4 separate regions of the Homo sapiens genome follow, and all the other regions are linked to region 4. The links are contacts of gene promoters, found by promoter capture Hi-C in blood cells and fetal thymus (Javierre and others, 2016). All regions are on one chromosome and are shown on one strand. Each heading gives the region's core, a stretch centred on a gene start or on the middle of the fragment in contact. The rest is flanking DNA. Distances are from core to core; before and after follow the strand shown.

Evidence for each region. Contacts are between HindIII fragments. The CHiCAGO score rates a contact against its expected background, and 5 or more counts as called.
Region 1: a fragment that was not itself captured here is called in contact with the fragment with the promoter of GTPBP8 in region 4 in 2 of 17 cell types (M0 macrophages and monocytes); the score reaches 6.0 in M0 macrophages.
Region 2: a fragment that was not itself captured here is called in contact with the fragment with the promoter of GTPBP8 in region 4 in 1 of 17 cell types (M1 macrophages); the score reaches 5.4 in M1 macrophages.
Region 3: a contact is called between a fragment that was not itself captured here and the fragment with the promoter of GTPBP8 in region 4, in 3 of 17 cell types (M1 macrophages, monocytes and megakaryocytes). The highest score is 7.0, in M1 macrophages.

What each region holds. Positions count from the first base shown.
Region 1 is chr3:112,708,102-112,711,572 of GRCh38, forward strand. No RefSeq gene overlaps it. Among named protein-coding and RNA genes, the nearest start is that of MIR9900, 27 kb to the right of the region's middle. The HindIII fragment of the contact is 498 bases long and covers 1,644-2,141 here.
Region 2 is chr3:112,598,937-112,602,213 of GRCh38, forward strand. CCDC80 (coiled-coil domain containing 80) reads right to left here. Exons shown (of 8, transcript NM_199511.3): 8 at 1-3,277. Among named protein-coding and RNA genes, the nearest start is that of SLC35A5, 39 kb to the left of the region's middle. The HindIII fragment of the contact is 3,746 bases long and covers 1-3,277 here.
Region 3 is chr3:112,623,790-112,627,110 of GRCh38, forward strand. All of the region lies in intron 3 of CCDC80 (coiled-coil domain containing 80), which reads right to left. Among named protein-coding and RNA genes, the nearest start is that of CCDC80, 16 kb to the right of the region's middle. The HindIII fragment of the contact is 4,682 bases long and covers 1-3,321 here.
Region 4 is chr3:112,989,491-112,992,742 of GRCh38, forward strand. GTPBP8 (GTP binding protein 8) reads left to right here and starts at 1,494. Exons shown (of 6, transcript NM_014170.4): 1 at 1,494-1,845. The coding sequence starts at 1,510. RefSeq lists enhancers at 1,036-1,663, 1,542-1,751. The HindIII fragment of the contact is 1,807 bases long and covers 1-1,601 here.

The DNA.
Region 1 (3,471 bases), core at 643-3,142, 280 kb before region 4:
GAATCTGTCTGGTCCAGGACTTTTTTGGCTGGTAGGCTATTTATTACTGATTCAATTTCAGATCTCGTTATTGGTCTGTTCAGGGATTCAATTTCTTTTTGATTCAGTCCTGAGAGGGGTTATGTGTTCAAGAATGTATCCATTTCTTCTATATTCTCTAGCTTGTGTGCATAGAGTTGTTCATATTAGCCTCTAATGGTGATTTGTATTTCTGTGGGGTCAGTGGTAATATCCCTTTTGTTGTTTCCGACTGTGTTTACTTGCATCTTCTCTCTTTTCTTCTTTATTAGTCTAGCTAGCAGTCTATCTATCTTATTTTTTTTTTCAAAACCCCACTCCTGGCTTCATTGATCTTTTAGATGGTTTTTTTGTATCTCAAAAGCTGTCTTCAGTTCAGTTCTGATTTTGGTTATTTCTTGGCTTCTGTTAGCTTTGTGGTTGGTTTGCTCTTGCCTCTCTAGTTCTTTTTGTTGTGATGTTAGGTTGTTAATTTGAGATCTTTCTAACTTTATGATGTAGGCATTTAGCACTATAAATTTCCCTCTTAACGCTGTCTTAGCTGTGTCCCAGAGATTCTGGGTATGTTGTAGCTTTGTTTTCATTAGTTTTAAAGAACTTATTTATTTCTGTCTTAATTTTAGTATTTACCCAAAAGTCATTCTGGAGCAGGTTGTTTAATTTCCATGTAATCATATGGTTTTCAGCAATTTTCTTAGACTTGAATTCTATTTTTTTGCACTGTGGTCTGAGAGAGTGGTTAGTATGATTTTAGTTCCTTTGTATTTTCTAAGGATTGTTTTATGTCCAATTGTGTGGCCAATTTTTGAGTACGTACCAGGTGCAGATGAGAAGAATATATAATCTGTTGTTTTGGGGTGGCGTGTTCTGCAGAGGTATATCAGATCCATTTGGTCCAGTGTTGAGTTCAGGTCCTGAATACCTTTGTTAATTTTCAGCCTCAATGATCTAATACCACCAGTGGGGTTGTAAAGTCTCCTGCTACTATTGTTTGAAAGTTTAAGTCTCTTTGTAGGTCTCTAAGAACTTGTTTTATGAATCTGAGTGCTCCTGTATTGGGTGCATATATATTTAAGATGGTTAAGTCTTCTTGTTGAAGTGAACCCTTTACCATTATGCAATGCCCTTCTTTGTCTTTTTTGATCTTTGTTGGTTTAAAGTCTGTTTTGTCTGGAGGTAGGATTGCAACCCCTGCTTTTTTTGTGTTTTCTATTTGCCTGGTAGATTATTCTCCATCCCTTTATTTTGAGCCTGTGGGTGTCACTGCATGTGAAATAAGTCTCTGAAGACAGCATACCATAGGGTCTTGCTCCTTTATGCAGTTTGCAAGTCTGTGCCTTTTCATTGGGAGCATTTAGCCCATTTACATTCATCGTTAGTATTGATACATATAGATTTGATCCTGTCACCTGTTGTTAGCTGTTTTTATGCCAACTTGTCTGTGTGGTTGCTTTATAATGTCACTGCCCTGTGTATTTAGGTGTGTGTTTTGTAGTGGCTAGTAATGGTCTTTTCTTTCTATATTTATTGCTGCTTTCAAGAGCTCTTGTAAGGCAGGTCTGGTGGTAATAAATTCTCTCAGCATTTGCTTGTCTAAAAGGATCTTATTTCTCCTTCATTTAGGAAGCTTAGTTTGGCTGGATATGACATTCTTGGTTGGAATTTCTTTTCTTTAAGAATGTTGAATATGGGCCCCCAATATATTCTGGCTTGTAGAGTTTCTGCTGAGAGGTCCACTGTTAGTCTGATGGACTTCCCTTTGTAGGTGACCTGTCCTTTCTCTCCAGGTGCCTTTAACATTTTTTCTTTCATTTTGACCTTGAAAATCTGATGATTATGTGTCTTGGGCATCATGATCTTGTCAAGTATTTTGTGGGGGTTCTCCATATTCCTGGAATTTGAATGTTTGCCTCTCTAGTTGGGTTGGGGAAGTTGTCATGAGTGATATCCTTAAATATGCTTTCCAAGTTGCTTCCATTCTCCCCATCTCTTTCAGAGATGCCTATGAGTCATATATTTGGTCTCTTTACATAATCCTATATTTCTCAGAAGTTTTGTTTGTTCCTTTTTTTCTCCTTTCCTTACTATTGTCTAACTATCTTATTTCAAAAAGCCATTTTTCAAGCTTGAGATTCTTTCCTCAGCTTGGTCTCTTCTACTGTTAATATTTGTGACTGCATTATGAAATTCTTGTAGAGTGTTTTTCAGCTCTATCAGGTTGGTTACATTATTTTCTATACTGGCTATCTTGTCTTTCAGCTCCTGTATCATTTTACTGTGATTCTCAGCTTCCTTAAATTGGGTTTCAATATTCTCCTGAATATCAATGATCTTCATTACTATCGACATTCTGAATTTTATTTCTGTCATTTCAGTCATTTCAGCCCAGTTAAGAACCCTTGCTGGAGACCTAGTACAGTTCAGGTTGGGGAGGGGCTATGCTACTGAGATCTAGTGGGTAGAGACCAGAAATACTTCTAAACATCTTGAAATGCACAGAATTATCTGACCCAAAATGTCAGTGCTAAGGTTGAAAATCCTGGGGTAAAAGAAATGGGGGTGTTTAAGCAAGGAAAGAAAAAATTTAAAAGGGTCCTAAATTCTATATGCAAATGTTTTCTCTTTTTTACAGCATTCTTGCTTATTTCACAGTTGTGATGGCCTCTCAAAATTCTCAAATAATAGTGTATATATATACACACACACACAAACACATATATGTATGTATATATACATAATTATTTGATACTACGTATATATTATCAAATAATTTTGGTAACAAATACTTATTTGTAACAAATAAAGTAACAAATATATTATTGTTGCATGTTATATTATTGTCATATACTATTGTTTGATTCTCTCTATTTCTATATATATATATACACACACATATATATTGTGTGTGTATACACACACACACACACATCTTTTCTGTTCCTAAAATTATTTGTTTCCTCAGGGTATTCTCATTTGTCTGTTTCTGTTTATACATGAGGTTCTACATAGTGACCTCAACCCTGACTGCACATTAGACCAGTGAATCCCAAGCTCTGGGAGTAAGGCCTAAGCATCTGTAGTTTTCTAAAGTTCCCAGGTGATTCGGAAACACAGCTAGCGTCTACATGAACAAGTATCAGAAGCTTAAGTGGTTTTCTTTCGTACAAATGAAGCTCTCTGCCCCACCACACTTTCTTAGGTGAATACAGATTTTGATTTTGGAACCCTTAAGAAGAGTTGCATTGGAAGAAAAAGATGGGATTGGAAAAAAAGCTGCTGCCACGAAGAACTTAGTCTTCAAAAATTAAAGAAACTATTGATGCCCTGGGTGGGTGCAGCAGAAAGACCCACAGAGGCTCATGGGATGGGTGCTAAGCCTCAGGATGGTAGGGAGAAGCATAAGAATAATAGAAATATTGGACAAAGAGCCTGATATAGAGCAGATCCAGCTTT
Region 2 (3,277 bases), core at 360-2,859, 390 kb before region 4:
CTATTCCCACAAAAATCTGGAACTGGGTTCTGAACTGAGAAGTCTGGGTTCCCTGAGAATTGGACATCAGTTCAACCACAGGAAGCCTCTAAATTTAGCACTCTACTCACAGAGGGCCAAGAAAAATTCACAAATGTCACAAACTTAGGAACTTAGGTATCTAGTCTTCTCTGTCATTTTGTAATGAGAAACTGAGGCCCATAGGTAAAACATCTCACCTCCAGTCACACAGGTAAGTACATGGCAGGGCAAGGACAGGCACCCAGTTTTCCCAAGTCCAGTGGCCTTTTCATGATACCCATTTCTGTGTATCATTTCATTGATTTCTGTGACAGCTGGCCCTTTGCCCCTCATCACCAAATCTTAACTCTTTGGACTTTAATAATGTGCAAAATTAAGAGGAAGTCTGGCATCGGGAGCTTTACACAACTCAGAGAGAACTGAGGAAAGTAGTTAGCATGTTAACTGTGCCTCACCTTGACCTGAAGTGAAGAGCACTCACCAAGCCACAACCTGCTATCTGCACACCCCACACCATGAGGTAAAGGACAGCCAAGGAAGAGAAAGGAAAGAAAAGCAATCCGGCAGGGAGATCAGGGAGCGAAACGAACAGAGAAACGAACAGAGGTTTTTTCCAAGGGCCTTCTATTTTTCTACAATCTCCACACATTCAGTACTGAGACACATTAAGAAGGGCCCACTGAGGCCATCATTCACCCTACTCTCGGGCTGCTTCCATCCTCCAGGCTTCTAGAAGTTGAGAAAGTATGAGCTTCATTGTTAATTATATTACAGAAAATGGGACCAGCTGGGTTGCACCCACTCCCCTGTGTCTGGACCTCCTGCCTATGTAGCAGAAAAGGATCTTTCTGCTGAATTAATATTCACCTCAGAGCCCTGGGAGATGTCTGATGAAAAGTAGTTTTTGAAGAGTCTTGTGACAACCAGCAATTTCGGCAAAGCTATGTCCTCAAGAGTCTTCCAGATTTCCCCAACTCTACAGAATGCTTTTCTTTTTAAATACCATAATCCCATAATCTTTCTCAAAAATTATAAAACTGTATTTTATTTTTCTCATTTATTTGGGAGTTTGGTAAGAAACGTTTGGGAAGAAATGCTTTTATGGAGAAACTACTCAGATTTGAAACTACCTAGTTTATACTACCAGAAGACAGAGATTCAGGTTAGCTAGTTTGCTAATCCTCACAGTTTCAGAGATATGCCTTGTATTTTTCCAGATTATAGGCTTTGAGGACATTCACCAATAGCATCCTCCTCTGAATGTATTTTGGTCCTTTTGCTAAGCTATGTCTTATTTTATAGTCCTCCAAATGATGATCTATGACTTCTCTGCCTGCTCATTAGAGGAAGAAAAGCTCAGATGCATTGCTAACTATTATTTCAATGCCAGTGGAACTGGAGAAATGCTTGAAAAAGTAATCTCAGGTTGTAAAAAAGAACTATCTTTTTTTGGTTGCAGGAGCTAGAACCCTATTATTCTGAGAGTAAATTTTCTATTATTCCTATCTAATTCATTTTCTTGGGAGATGAAACTCCCTCTTTTTTTTGGTGGGGAGACAGGGTCTCACTTTGTCACCCAGGATGATGATGATGGAGTGCTGTGGCACGATCACGGCACACTGAAGCCTCGACCTCCTAGGCTCAAGCGATTCTCTCACTTCAGCCTCCTGAATAGCTGGGACCACAGACACACACCACCTTACCCAGCTAATTTTTTGTATTTTTTTGTAGAGACAGGGTTTTGCCGTGTTGCCCAGGCTGGTCTCGAAGTCCTGGGCTCAAGCGACCCGCTCACCTTGGCCTCCCAAAGTGCTGGGATTACAGGTGTGAGCCCCTCACTGCTCCTGGCTCCCTCATTATTATATTTCCTGAAGTTGACATGATTTGGGTCCTTTACTTAGAAATTGTCATCACACAATTTCAGAAAGGTAAAGAAATCCATTTTTATTGGCAACTTTGGGCTATGCTTCATCCTGGCAAAAATTTAAAAGCAGTACACTTCGACGTGGCTCACTTTCCTGCACACCTCAGGCAGCTTGTACAGACTATCCAAGAAAAAATGAGGAGGAAAGTGCTCCATCAAGGAAGAGGGATGAGATGGGAGCATAATTCACACACTAAGAACTGAGTTCTAAAGTCACTTGAGCTTTCTGGAGCTCAGTTACCTGTAAAACAAGGAAGAATGAATGGTCTTTATGGAAAATGAATGGCAGAATAAGTGATTTGTCAAGTTCATTGAACTATAAATTCCATTTTTACTGTCATTTATTTATAACAAAGTTCAGATATAAAGAAAAATCTGAACATACAGTAGGCACAGATAAACCTATAGCAAATATTCACATGTGGTTTGAATGCATTTATTAATCTCTGTACTTATTAGAATTAATAATAATACTAAAATGATTTGGAGAATTAATGATTAATAACAGTGGAAAATAGCCTTCCCATTATTGTTAGAGGATGGTGCCATCATGATGCTAAATGCCTATCTGAGGGGAAGCTCATAAATATTACTTGACAATATTACTTGATAAATATTTGTTGAAAAAAGAAATGTAGTAAAGAAGCAAGGATGGCTGGGCATGGTGGAGCATGGCTGTGGTCCCAGCTAACTTGGGATGCTGAGGTGGGAGGATTGTTTGAGGGAAGCTGAGTTTGCAGTGAGCCAAGATTGCACTACTGCACTGCAGCCTGGGTGACAGAGTGAGACCCTCTCCAAAAAAAGAAAAAAAAAAAGAGAAAAAAAAGAAGCAGCAGCAACGAAAGGAGGGAGGAAGGGAGAAAGTTTACTTTGATATGCCATATGATTGAAACAAATGCTCTTTTTTCAAAGACAAGGATTATACTCCTTTGCATTCCAGCTACTTTGGTCCATTGTAACTTGGTAACCTTTGCCTTGAAAACAAAAAGAATCCCTGGATATAATCTCCTTCCTTGTAATTTTTTTTATAAGATGCCAGTATGGTAATAGGTCCATTAGCAAGTAAGTACAGGCACATCTTATTTTATTATACTTCTCAGATACTGCATTTTTTACAAATTGAAGGTTTGTGGCAACCCTGCATCAAGGAAGTCTGTTGACATCATTTTTGCAATAGTATGTACTCACTTTATGTCTCTGTGTCACATTTTGGTAATTCTTGCCATATTTCACACTGTTTCATTATTATCTCTGTTATTAAAATCTGTAGTCAACGATCTTTGATGTTGCTATTATAATTACTGGGGGCACCATGAACCACACTTATATAAC
Region 3 (3,321 bases), core at 645-3,144, 370 kb before region 4:
GTGCCCTCTCTTCCTGGAATGCTGTCCACATGAGTACTTCTTATTGTCTCTGAAACCTGTCTTCACCTCACTTGTGCACTCAACATTTTGGCATTCTTCTGTAATAATGCTAATCACCTTGCATTGCAACCAGTTGTTTACATATCTGTCTTCCCCCTAGATATGAGTAATTCAACAATAGAGACTGAGTTTTGGTCACCTTTTACATCCTTTCAGGCTGGCACAGTTCCTAGCATACAACCCCAGCATTCAGTAAAGATTTGGTAATCACTAGAACTCTCCCATAAGAAAGATATATGAAAAAGACAGTAATAAGGTATAGATAAGGTGAGTGATTCTGGGACTGTGTAGAAAACCCACCATAAAACCTTCACACTTTCCTTTGATCTTGTGAACCCGCAACACAGTCTAATGTAATTTGAGAAAACACATTCATATATATTTTTTTCTAAAATTGGTTTTGCATGCATTAGGTCTTTTAAATAAAACATATTTGTAAGGCATTTAAAATATAACGATTCTTTTCAAGAAGTCAGTAGGGGCCAAAACTCTCTTGGTTGTGCTTTGCATAAGCCAGGAGGTAGATGCCAGCAGAAGCTAAATTGCTTTTATTCTCAAGAACATTGCCAGGAGTGCTGAGCAGTCCATGGCAGGTTATTTCAGTTAGGATAACCTTGGCCTCCAGCTTGGAACTTATTTCCTTTTGATTGGAAATGGATAAGTTTAAATTACTTTGCAATTGATCTGCTTACTCCCCTTTTACTCTATGAGTGGGTCATTTTCCTATCTACTACCCCACTGTGAGATGAGTGACCTGATTAAATTGATAGGTGGGACTACCCTGGCCATTCCTGATCACTTTTTCTCTAGAAAGAGCAACTTGTCTTATTAATAAAGAGTGTGTCCTGTCCAAGTGAATTGCTGTCCTACAGATTGACTCCATCAAATCTTAAAGTTATAAATATATTTGAAAAATATATTCAGAAATATTTAGTGACTTCACATGGTTTACATATAAAGTTTGAATACTTTATCTTGGTATTAGAAATCTAATTTCAGGTGCCAAACTACATTTCTAGCCCTCTCTTCACCTCTTATCCTCTACCTAGCCTTCTGCTCTAGATCAAACCTAATAGCAAATCAGAATCACCTGAGCAACATTTTAAAATATAGATTCCTGGACCTCATTCCTAAACAAATGAGTCATTATCTTGGAGTAGAAAGGGGAGGTGGGAGTCTGAATTTTTTTCCAATTTATATAGAGTACCTATGCATTGGGATGAAAAAGATGACAACGCAATAGAAAAATGGGCAAAGAACACTAAAAAGGAAATATAAATGCTCCCTAAGCATGAAAATGTGTTCAATCATACTCACAACATGAGAAATGCAAATCAATACTACCCTATACTGATACCATTTTTCACATATTACACTGGTCAAAAGCATCCAAAAGTTTGATTACACACATTAATTGGAGAGGTCTGGGGAAATAGACATATTTAAACATTGTTGTTGGAACTGCAACATGATTCAACTTGTGTGGAGAGAAATCAGGAAGTATCCACTCAGACTACATTTTCTATTTAGTCTAACAATCCTGTTTCTTAGACTGTATTGGAAAGATGCACACACAATTTCACAATTTAATCGTAACCTTGTTCATATATAGCTCTATGTATGTGTGATATATGTGTAAGAACAAAATATTGAAAATAGTCCAAGTGTCCATGGACAAAATGTTTAAACTATGAGAGAATCTCACAATTTTTTGATAAGAAATGGGGAAGATTGCTATATACTCATAAAGAAAGATCTCCTAGAAATATTTTAAGTGAAAAAAGCAAGGTGTGGAACAATATATATAATATGCTATATTTTGTATAAAAAGAAAAATATATAGGTATTTATTTGTATTTGTCTAAAAAAGTACTAAATGAATAAATAAGGAATTAACAAAAATGATTACCTGTGGGTGCAGGGAGTAGCAGGGTAAAGGGGTCAGGAAGGATACAAGACTTGTCTGTGTACACCTTTTTATATAGCTTTGACTTTGAAAATTTAAAAAAAGTATTTCTTTGAAAAATTAAACAAAAACAAAAATACCTTGATCTAGTCATTATTCTATCAAAAGAAAAAAAACCTACTCATTTTTCAAGGTCCCTCCATTAAATCAACCTACTTTTCAAAATTCTCTGATATTTTCAATACCTTATCTGATGACTACAATTGGAAGAGCCAATCCCTCCACTACATTCTTCAAACACTTGTTTTGTACATTTGACATATCAGGCACTTTTCCCCCTTGGAATGTCAGGGATTGGTCTTGACACTGATATGCTTGATGTTGGAGGCAGCAAGGGCAGTGGACTAAGAAGACTGAGTAGGTTAGGAGACAGGCTCTCTAGTCTCTAGGGCACAGAATGATTGATAAGTAAAGACTTATCAAAGCAGAGGGGGACACACAGCCACTGTGTGGAAGTCTGAGCACTCATCCTGCCTCTCCTCCCAGCTCAGTGTTGCAGGGTCTAGAGAAGGCAGCTGCCAGGCACTGTCACCACTGATGAAAGGAGAAGTTGGGGGAAAAGGGTCTATTTTTCAGGACTGCCCCAGAGGCAAAGCAGCATTTTTGAATTGTTGTGGATCCTGATGACTGAGGTTTCTCTAGAAAGAACAATTCTCTTCAACAGGATCAGACAGAAAGGGTATTTTAGACTGATTTGTATACTATCATTCTCATTTTGTTTATTTATTGATTTATTTATCTATTTATTTTGAGACAGAGTGTCACTTTGTCACCCAGGTTAGAGTGTACTGGCATAATCTTGGCTCACTGCAACCTCTGCCTCCCAGGTTCAAGAAATTCTCCTGCCTCAACCCCCCAAATAGCTGGAATTACAGGCATCTGCCACCATGCCCAGCTAATTTTTGTATTTTTAGTAGAGATGGGATTTCACCATATTGGCCAGGCTGTTCCCAAACTCCTGGCCTCAAGTGATCAGCCTACGTCGGCCTCCCAAAGTATTGGGATTACAAGCATGAGCCACTGCACCTGGCGTACCATTCTCATTTTAAAAATTGACTTATGAAGTCATTAGATAGTAAGAAATCAACATTTTCTCTCTCCTTGTTGCCATATTCCACCTCCATGAACTTTGCTACCTCTCTTGATTACCCTCAAACTCTCCTTTCTTTGAAAGAAGTTATCAAAAAACTTCCCTTGCCCTATTAAATGTCCTGTGTATTCTAGCTCTTAAAATTTGGTGATAAAATGCCAATGTTAAAATATTTTTCATCTCTAAATATTGCTAAGAAAGAAAC
Region 4 (3,252 bases), core at 244-2,743:
ACCTGGGGTTCCAAGGTTTGAAAACAAAATGGCATGTATAAAAGCACTTTCAAAGTATATTACATACACAGCGTCAGGCCTCTGAGCCCAAGCTAAGCCATCATATCCCCAGTGACCTGCACGTATACATCCAGAAGGCCTGAAGATCCACAGAAGGGAAAACAGCTTAACTGATGACATTCCACCATTGTGATTTGTTTCTGCCCTATCCTAACTGATCAATGTTCTTTATAATCTCCCCCACCCTTAAGAAGTTTCTTTGTAATTCTCCCCACCCTTGAGAATGTACTTTGTGAGATCTACCCTCTGCCCCTAAAACATTGCTCTTAACTCCACCGCCTGTCCCAAAACCTATAAGAACTAATGATAATCCCACCACCTTTGCTGACTCTCTTTTGGGACTCAGCCCACCTGCACCCAGGTGAAATAAACAGCCTTGTTGCTCACACAAAGACTGTTTGGTGATCTCTTCACATGGATGAGTGAAACACACACTAATGAGAATCCCAAATTTCTGATGTATACAACAGAGTATTATACACACTTTTATACATGGAGGAGAGAGAATAGCGAACAGAAAGGCACCCCAAACCCTAATGCAAAGAGCAATAAAAAATTAGCCAGCCAGCAGCACATCAGGCTGCCGTATTGGCTGCCCTCAAAGTCGCAGGTTCTGTTCATTAATTTTTGTATCATATTTATTCAAGAATTGTACTGTTTAATTACTGAACAACCTGGGGAATAGCTCAAGAAACCATGAGTTACCCTTTCTGGGCTGCTGATGTTTTAGAAAACCTAGTTTTTTTAACATATGAATATTTTTCAGTTATTCATTTCATCATTATGATACCTGTATCTCCCATTTCAGTACTGATCGACTTTAGGGAGAAACTTTTGAAATAAGATGATATTACGAAACGTCCACGAAACAATTCTGTAACATCTGTGCAAAACTGTTTTTATAAGAAATCTCTAAAATTTAATGACATTTCCTGCACCTATAGTGAAGGCGGAAATACAAACAGTCCCTTCCACGAAAACGAGGTGCTATTACAATCACATTTCTCATCAGCCCTTTTCTTTTTTGCAAAAGTGTTTATCCTAGTGCTGCGGACTTACGACAAACGTCAACAGTTAATAAGATAACCAAAAACTGTGAAAATCAAACGTTCCTGGAATGCATCGGAGCTTCACACTTTAGTCCTTCGCTTGAGACTCAAAGGCCACATGGCCAGATAGGTCTTTCACCTCTGCAAACCGTTAAACATCCTTCCAGTAAGACATAATCGTTAAGCCCACGGTGTTAAAGAAACCCAGTGAGCTGTTCCCCGCAGGTCACCGCCTGCCTCCACCCTCCTCCCGCGCACTGAAGGCAAAACACTTAGACCGGAACGAGCGAGGCCAGAGGAGACAACAACTCCCAGCAGGCGTCGCGGCAGCGGGAAGTCACGCACGCGCAACCCAGGCCACAGGAGTAAAATCTCTCTGCCCGTCTTCTGGGAAGGGAGAATGGCGGCGCCCGGGCTGCGGCTGGGAGCGGGAAGACTCTTTGAAATGCCTGCGGTGCTAGAGCGACTGAGCCGCTATAATAGCACGTCCCAAGCTTTTGCTGAGGTGCTGCGGCTGCCGAAGCAGCAGCTGAGGAAGCTGCTGTACCCGCTGCAGGAAGTAGAGCGGTTCCTCGCCCCCTACGGGAGGCAAGACCTTCACCTGCGTATCTTTGACCCAAGCCCGGAGGACATAGCCAGGGCGGACAACATCTTCACGGCCACTGAACGGAACCGCATCGACTACGTCAGCTCCGCCGTCCGTATCGACCACGCCCCGGACCTTCCGCGGCCAGAGGTGAGAGGCGATTCTCACGGTTCACCTGCGCGCCGGCGTCACAGCGCTAACCGCTTCCCTGGCCGTCCGGCTCGCGGGTGATTTTGCGGTTGTATTTTCTAGCTTTATGTTGGCGCATATATTATTTTAACTCAATAGGCATATGTCGATGCTCCCTGTACGTGGGGATACCCGAGAAACCCATTGTTAAGTACAAAATGCAGTCAATACCCATAAACCCATGGTAAAGTCAAAAATCGTTAAGTCGACCCACTGTAAGCAGAGACTGCCTGTATACAGCTTAAATTATTTTGGAATGAATATAGAAGACTTCAAAATGCTTTAAAAGCTTTTCAAACCCAAATTAAGCATTCAAAAAATTAACTCTCCTTTTTTCTTCTATTTAACTTAAGTAGGGAAAACATGCCAGACAAATTAGACAGAATTTAGACAGTGAAGAATAGGAAACGAATAATAGTTTCACAAATGAGATGGTCCTTATCAATAAGTAACTTTCGCCTAATCTAAATTTCCTATCGTGCAAAAATAATAATCTCTAGATGGCAATAATGTGGAAAAATTTTTATAACAACGTTTATTAGTGAAATTTCATGAGTGAGCATTCTTGCATGTCCTACAATTTATTGATATTCTGTTCTAAGTCTGCTAAAAGGCATCTCAACTCTCCATATGTATTTACACTAAGTGCACCATTGCCCAGAGATATTTCGTCTAAATATATGTGGAACTATAGTCAGGATTCAAAGAGTACCTCAATTATTTAATGATTTTGAGACAGCCATTGCTTTTTTATTTAAGCTTCTAAATTACTGGACTTTTTTGTAATTCGTTTTTAAAATTCAGTTTTATCTACATATTAGCATTAGATTTGCTCTGGCAGAGCATTTAAAATTTTTGCAGGACTCAGATCAATTAATTTTGAAGAACTGACCAGAATTTTCCAGGATAGGATCCCTGGCCCCTGCCCACTAAATGTCCCCCAATTGTCTTGATAACCAAAAATGCCCTTAAAATCTCCAAAATGTCCCTCAAGGGGCAGTACGGCCGTCATTTAGAACAACTGATTGGCATTGTACCCCCTCCCCCAATACCATGTTCAAAAGCAGAGCCATGTGTATTAATGGTTATTATCGAGAATATTCTGTTGTTTTCCACACTACAGAGGAGACAAGCTTAATTGGAACAAGAGAGGTCAAGGGAAAAGAGTAAGTTTTTAAATTGCAGTGGTGTTACAGTATACCATGGGAGTGCTTGAGAAAATGTGCTTCCAAACATGTAGTTGTACTTTTCATCTAGTTCTGTTGAACTACATCTAGTTTTTACTCTAAAAAGCTTTGTAAATATGAAATGCTTAATAAAAGTTGCATATATTCTTGAGTAGCGTAGTGAAACTAAAAGCACAGATTC